Linked DNA regions of Homo sapiens: region 2 is linked to region 1. The links are contacts of gene promoters, found by promoter capture Hi-C in blood cells and fetal thymus (Javierre and others, 2016). All regions are on one chromosome and are shown on one strand. Each heading gives the region's core, a stretch centred on a gene start or on the middle of the fragment in contact. The rest is flanking DNA. Distances are from core to core; before and after follow the strand shown.

Evidence for each region. Contacts are between HindIII fragments. The CHiCAGO score rates a contact against its expected background, and 5 or more counts as called.
Region 2: a contact is called between the fragment with the promoter of TERT here and the fragment with the promoter of CLPTM1L in region 1, in 2 of 17 cell types (naive CD4 T cells and erythroblasts). The highest score is 6.1, in naive CD4 T cells.

Annotation. Positions count from the first base shown.
Region 1 is chr5:1,343,654-1,346,699 of GRCh38, forward strand. It overlaps CLPTM1L (CLPTM1 like), which reads right to left and starts at 1,446. Exons shown (of 17, transcript NM_030782.5): 1 at 1,027-1,446; 2 at 698-798. The coding sequence starts at 1,188. The HindIII fragment of the contact is 23,624 bases long and covers 1-3,046 here.
Region 2 is chr5:1,293,818-1,296,863 of GRCh38, forward strand. It overlaps TERT (telomerase reverse transcriptase), which reads right to left and starts at 1,251. Exons shown (of 16, transcript NM_198253.3): 1 at 954-1,251; 2 at 1-849. The coding sequence starts at 1,172. RefSeq lists promoters at 811-3,046, 811-1,502, cis regulatory regions at 816-1,172, 1,175-1,207, 1,277-1,285, 1,297-1,305, enhancers at 1,199-1,241, 1,212-1,928 and silencers at 1,338-1,407, 1,508-1,597. The HindIII fragment of the contact is 13,041 bases long and covers 1-3,046 here.

The DNA of each region.
Region 1 (3,046 bases), core at 196-2,695:
GGCCAGGCAGAAACCGGCTTGCCAGCGCCTCCAGCTACCCCCAGGGACTGGCTGCCTAGAGGGCGTGGAGTCCAGCATGAGTCTCAAACTTTCATTATTCTCTCCTCAGATACCTCCCAGGCAATGAAGGGAAATGGTTGACTTGTGAGAAGCAAATCATATTTAAAAGTATACTTATTCAATTAAAAAAAATTAGGCCATGTCAGATGTAATTTTTAAGATACTCTACATATTTGGACATTGATCTATTCTAACGTCACATGTCACTTATTTATGATTTTCTACAAAATTGCTTCCTCTATCCTCATCTCTTTTCCCTCACAAGTAACTTAAGCGAACTACTTCCACCAGGAAAAGACAAGTTGGTCCCCGGTAGTGAAACTGCAGAGTTGTCTGCTCTCCACTGGTTCACCAAGCGTGGCCCCTGCTCCTTCGGAGCCTCCCCGTCCAGGACATCCCACTGCCATCACACTCTGCTGAGAACTACTTCTTAAACGACATTCATCACCTGTCACCTTCCAGGCTGAATGTTTACAGGCCACGCATAGGCCTCCAGTTAGGATATTCTACCACTTCAAGACATTCGGTAAGACTAGTTCTCTAAAATAAACATGTTATGTACAGAAAGCTAACTTTTAAACAATCTGAACATGAGTAATGTTTTCCCTTTCACTGGCATTTTGTCCTACGCCCATACCTTTCAAATTTGGACTCCACATCAAAGTCTTCCACATTCAAGACCAGGTCGATGTTGTTCTCAGCACCCAGGTGGGACCTCGTCGTGGTGTACACGCTCAGCTGGAAAGGAGGGGGCGTCGAGAGTCAGCTCGGCCAGGCCCTGGCAGGACGCACTCAAATCCCACGGCCAGCTGGAGGGCGGAAGACCTGGCCGCTGGGGAACCAGGAAAGGTTCCATCTCGACTCGCGCGGCCACAGCTCCGAACTGGGACGGGAAGGCGACGTCTGGGGCCTGGAGGAGAGGCCCCCACCCCAACCCGCCCGGCCCCCGGCCCCGCGGACGCTCACCTGCAGCTTGGGCCGCCGCGCCAGGTAGGGCTGGATGCAGTTGGCGTCGCCGGAGCACGGGCGGGTGTAGACGATGCCGTACATGACCCAGCAGGTGTGCACCACGTAGACCACGAACACGCCCACCACCAAGCTGGTGAAGGAGCTGCGGCCGCTCCACATGGCGGCCCCGCGCCCGGCGCCCCCGGCCCGCCCGCCTCTCAGCCGCGAGCCCCGCCCGCCCGGCGCCCAGCCCGCCGCTCCGGGCTCCGCCGCTCACTGGAGAGCCGCCGCGCGCCACCGCCACCGCCGCGGGGGAACGAATGCGCCGCGCGCCGCAGACCGCCGGCCGCCCCGCATGCTCCGGCCCCGCTCCCACCTGGCGCCGCGGGATTCGCCGGCCCCGCGCGCCGCTTCCGGGCCCCGCCGCCTGCCGGAAGTGGACGCGCCGCGCGGCTCCCTGGGAAACGGAGTCTCGGCCGCTGCCGCGCACGCGCATCCAGGATGCGGCGCGTGTGTGACGTTACCCGCCCGCGCCGCCCTCCTGGGGTGCCTCTCAGGGACCCAGGCGCTCAGCTGCTGGGGCCGCGGAGGGCGTTCGCGGGGCGCCGGGGAAGGCTAGGGCCGCGGGGTCCCCGGGGCGCCGTCCCCAACCGCCGACGCCTGCCAGACCACCAAGTGGGGGCCATGTCGACGTGTGAGGAGCCTGGTGGAAGGTGATACTGGAATTCCGGCACTGGGCCTGCAACCCTTTTAGTCCACAGTTGTCAGAATCTAAAGGGAAGAAAAACGAAGTGCTCAGAACCCTCACAGAAGCCGGGCACCTCATCCCGTGTGTGGGTTTTTTCCCCAGTACAAACCCATTGTGGGGACAGGCGCTTTTGAAGAAAAAATTCAGATTCCCGGGCTGAAGTGGCTCCTCACAGCCTTGAACCTGACCCCCAGCTTCCCGCTAAAGCCGAGCGTGCCCAGCACGGCGAGGTCAGCAGAGGCCCCTCGGAGGGCGGCCGGGGGAGGTCAGTGGGAGGCCCTCGGGCAGCCGGTGGATGGGCCGGCGACCTCCCCGACTCCATCAGAAGCGCTCAGTCTGTGCCCTTCAGTTACTGGAGCAGCTCCCGTCCTTTGGCCAGTTCTCTGGAAGGTCGTTTCCGTTTCTGTGTCTGCCACACGTGCAGCACAATCGAAAAACCTTGTTCGACATTTCTAGAAAGAGTAGATGCTACTGAAGACCCAATAGATTGCTGAGGGTTTTCAGAGCAGGGACAATTGCATCAGGGTGCTGGGCTCCGGGAAGAACTCAGAGGACTTGGCTGACGGGCGGATGGGACAGTGATTGGTGCCGAGAATGGGCCAGAGAAGCAGGTCTGCCTGGAGCAGGCACCCGAGGCCGCGTGCAGGGGCGGTCCTGGGCCACCAACCCCTGGAAGCTGGGCCAGGAGCTTCGGAGCCATCCGAGGCTTTTTTCGCTCCTCTCACTCTCATGCACCTAGTTACCCTCCCCACAGAGTCTTCTCACGGCGCGGTTTTCGGCTACCATTGCAGTGGTGTCTGACTACACCCAGTGCCTCTATCGTTCCCCCCTCAGTCTGTTCTCGCTTCTTGGCAAACCTGTCCTTGGAAAGCCCTCTGCTGACTCCTGTTACCCTGATCAAATGCATCCTCCTCAGGAGGCTCGTGAGCCCTTTGCAGGGTGGCCCAAGAGGCATCACGCCCTGCTCTCCAGCCACTCTTGGGGTCCCCTACAGGGCCAGGCGTCCCACACCAGCAGCGGGTGCTGGTCCTGCCACAGTCTGTGCGACACGTGAATGAAGGCTGTAGACCTGTGGTCTGCGGGAGGCAAATTCCAACTCCAGCTGTCAAACATAAGGGGACTGGTAGGCTCTCCAGGGTGGATTGTCTCACGGCATCCAGAGGCAGGGACCGAGGCAGGGACCTAGCCAGGCCTCGGGAAGGAGCTGCAAACCCAGGAGCTCTGGGGTGTGGCTTCATCTCCCTCCCTCCCTACCACCCTACCCCCATCTCTCCGTGTTCTTCAGATGCC
Region 2 (3,046 bases), core at 1-2,500, 50 kb before region 1:
GCCAGTCAGGCTGGGCCTCAGAGAGCTGAGTAGGAAGGAGGGCCGCAGCTGCTCCTTGTCGCCTGAGGAGTAGAGGAAGTGCTTGGTCTCGGCGTACACCGGGGGACAAGGCGTGTCCCAGGGACGTGGTGGCCGCGATGTGGATGGGGGGCCCGCGTGGTGCTGGCGGCCCACGGATGGGTGGGAGTGGCGCGTGCCAGAGAGCGCACCCTCCAAAGAGGTGGCTTCTTCGGCGGGTCTGGCAGGTGACACCACACAGAAACCACGGTCACTCGGTCCACGCGTCCTGCCCGGGTGGGCCCAGGACCCCTGCCCAACGGGCGTCCGCTCCGGCTCAGGGGCAGCGCCACGCCTGGGCCTCTTGGGCAACGGCAGACTTCGGCTGGCACTGCCCCCGCGCCTCCTCGCACCCGGGGCTGGCAGGCCCAGGGGGACCCCGGCCTCCCTGACGCTATGGTTCCAGGCCCGTTCGCATCCCAGACGCCTTCGGGGTCCACTAGCGTGTGGCGGGGGCCGGGCCTGAGTGGCAGCGCCGAGCTGGTACAGCGGCGGCCCGCACACCTGGTAGGCGCAGCTGGGAGCCACCAGCACAAAGAGCGCGCAGCGTGCCAGCAGGTGAACCAGCACGTCGTCGCCCACGCGGCGCAGCAGCAGCCCCCACGCCCCGCTCCCCCGCAGTGCGTCGGTCACCGTGTTGGGCAGGTAGCTGCGCACGCTGGTGGTGAAGGCCTCGGGGGGGCCCCCGCGGGCCCCGTCCAGCAGCGCGAAGCCGAAGGCCAGCACGTTCTTCGCGCCGCGCTCGCACAGCCTCTGCAGCACTCGGGCCACCAGCTCCTTCAGGCAGGACACCTGCGGGGGAAGCGCCCTGAGTCGCCTGCGCTGCTCTCCGCATGTCGCTGGTTCCCCCCGGCCGCCCTCAACCCCAGCCGGACGCCGACCCCGGGGAGGCCCACCTGGCGGAAGGAGGGGGCGGCGGGGGGCGGCCGTGCGTCCCAGGGCACGCACACCAGGCACTGGGCCACCAGCGCGCGGAAAGCCGCCGGGTCCCCGCGCTGCACCAGCCGCCAGCCCTGGGGCCCCAGGCGCCGCACGAACGTGGCCAGCGGCAGCACCTCGCGGTAGTGGCTGCGCAGCAGGGAGCGCACGGCTCGGCAGCGGGGAGCGCGCGGCATCGCGGGGGTGGCCGGGGCCAGGGCTTCCCACGTGCGCAGCAGGACGCAGCGCTGCCTGAAACTCGCGCCGCGAGGAGAGGGCGGGGCCGCGGAAAGGAAGGGGAGGGGCTGGGAGGGCCCGGAGGGGGCTGGGCCGGGGACCCGGGAGGGGTCGGGACGGGGCGGGGTCCGCGCGGAGGAGGCGGAGCTGGAAGGTGAAGGGGCAGGACGGGTGCCCGGGTCCCCAGTCCCTCCGCCACGTGGGAAGCGCGGTCCTGGGCGTCTGTGCCCGCGAATCCACTGGGAGCCCGGCCTGGCCCCGACAGCGCAGCTGCTCCGGGCGGACCCGGGGGTCTGGGCCGCGCTTCCCCGCCCGCGCGCCGCTCGCGCTCCCAGGGTGCAGGGACGCCAGCGAGGGCCCCAGCGGAGAGAGGTCGAATCGGCCTAGGCTGTGGGGTAACCCGAGGGAGGGGCCATGATGTGGAGGCCCTGGGAACAGGTGCGTGCGGCGACCCTTTGGCCGCTGGCCTGATCCGGAGACCCAGGGCTGCCTCCAGGTCCGGACGCGGGGCGTCGGGCTCCGGGCACCACGAATGCCGGACGTGAAGGGGAGGACGGAGGCGCGTAGACGCGGCTGGGGACGAACCCGAGGACGCATTGCTCCCTGGACGGGCACGCGGGACCTCCCGGAGTGCCTCCCTGCAACACTTCCCCGCGACTTGGGCTCCTTGACACAGGCCCGTCATTTCTCTTTGCAGGTTCTCAGGCGGCGAGGGGTCCCCACCATGAGCAAACCACCCCAAATCTGTTAATCACCCACCGGGGCGGTCCCGTCGAGAAAGGGTGGGAAATGGAGCCAGGCGCTCCTGCTGGCCGCGCACCGGGCGCCTCACACCAGCCACAACGGCCTTGACCCTGGGCCCCGGCACTCTGTCTGGCAGATGAGGCCAACATCTGGTCACATCCCGCCCGCACAGGGTGGAGGGCAACCTCGGGGTCCAGGCACCTGGCTCCAAGCCTCGGACTGCAGAGCTAGGAGGCCCGACTTCCAGCCCAGCAGTAGAAGCCACACGGCCACTGGTCCCCTCCAGACCTGGGGCCCCGGCACAACCGCAGGACAGCTGAGGACTTCCCAGGAATCCAGACTCCGGGTTGCTCAAGTTTGGATCTAAGGGGCGAGAAACTTCTGGGTCTCCCGAGGCCTTGCAGGGATGCTGTAGCTGAGGTCGGCAAACACTGAAATGCTAACAAACGCAACCTTAAATGTAACCTTTCCTACTTTCAGAAACTGCCGGAGGAAATTGCTTTATTTATGGAGCTAGCATTTGAACAGGCCTCGCACCCTCCCTGGGCTGTCACGCTCGCTGGAGGTTAGCCTCGTCTTGTAAATACTTAGGATTACAGGTCGCTCTTCTAGAAATCCCCTTAGTGATCCCTAAGCCTTTTTAAAGGGCTGTGTTTGTGAATTGTCTCTGCCACTAGGGCAAAGGGGCGGTTTGGAAAATTTGTTCCAACAAAAGTTAAGTTGTAGCTTACACTGGTTCTCTGCAGAGAAGCCAACATAGAAAACACAATTTTAAAAGAGGGAAGAGAAGAAATGGAAGCAGAAGATTATGCTGGAGTAATTAACACCATGTGCATGGCGAGGAAACGCCTCCCGGCATTCAATGAAGATCGCTGATACCCAGAAGACACCCCAGTATTATGGGTGCAGTTAGTGTGTCTTTGAAAAGCTGATGATGTCTTAGTCATCACAGTGTAAAACATCAAGAGTGTTCTAACAACAATAAAAAAATTCTATCATTGGCTTAAAACACCACAACACTTGAGTGGGGTGAGCTTCCTACCTCAGACCCAGATGTTTCTAAACAGAGTAAATTCTGAGCTGGGCATGG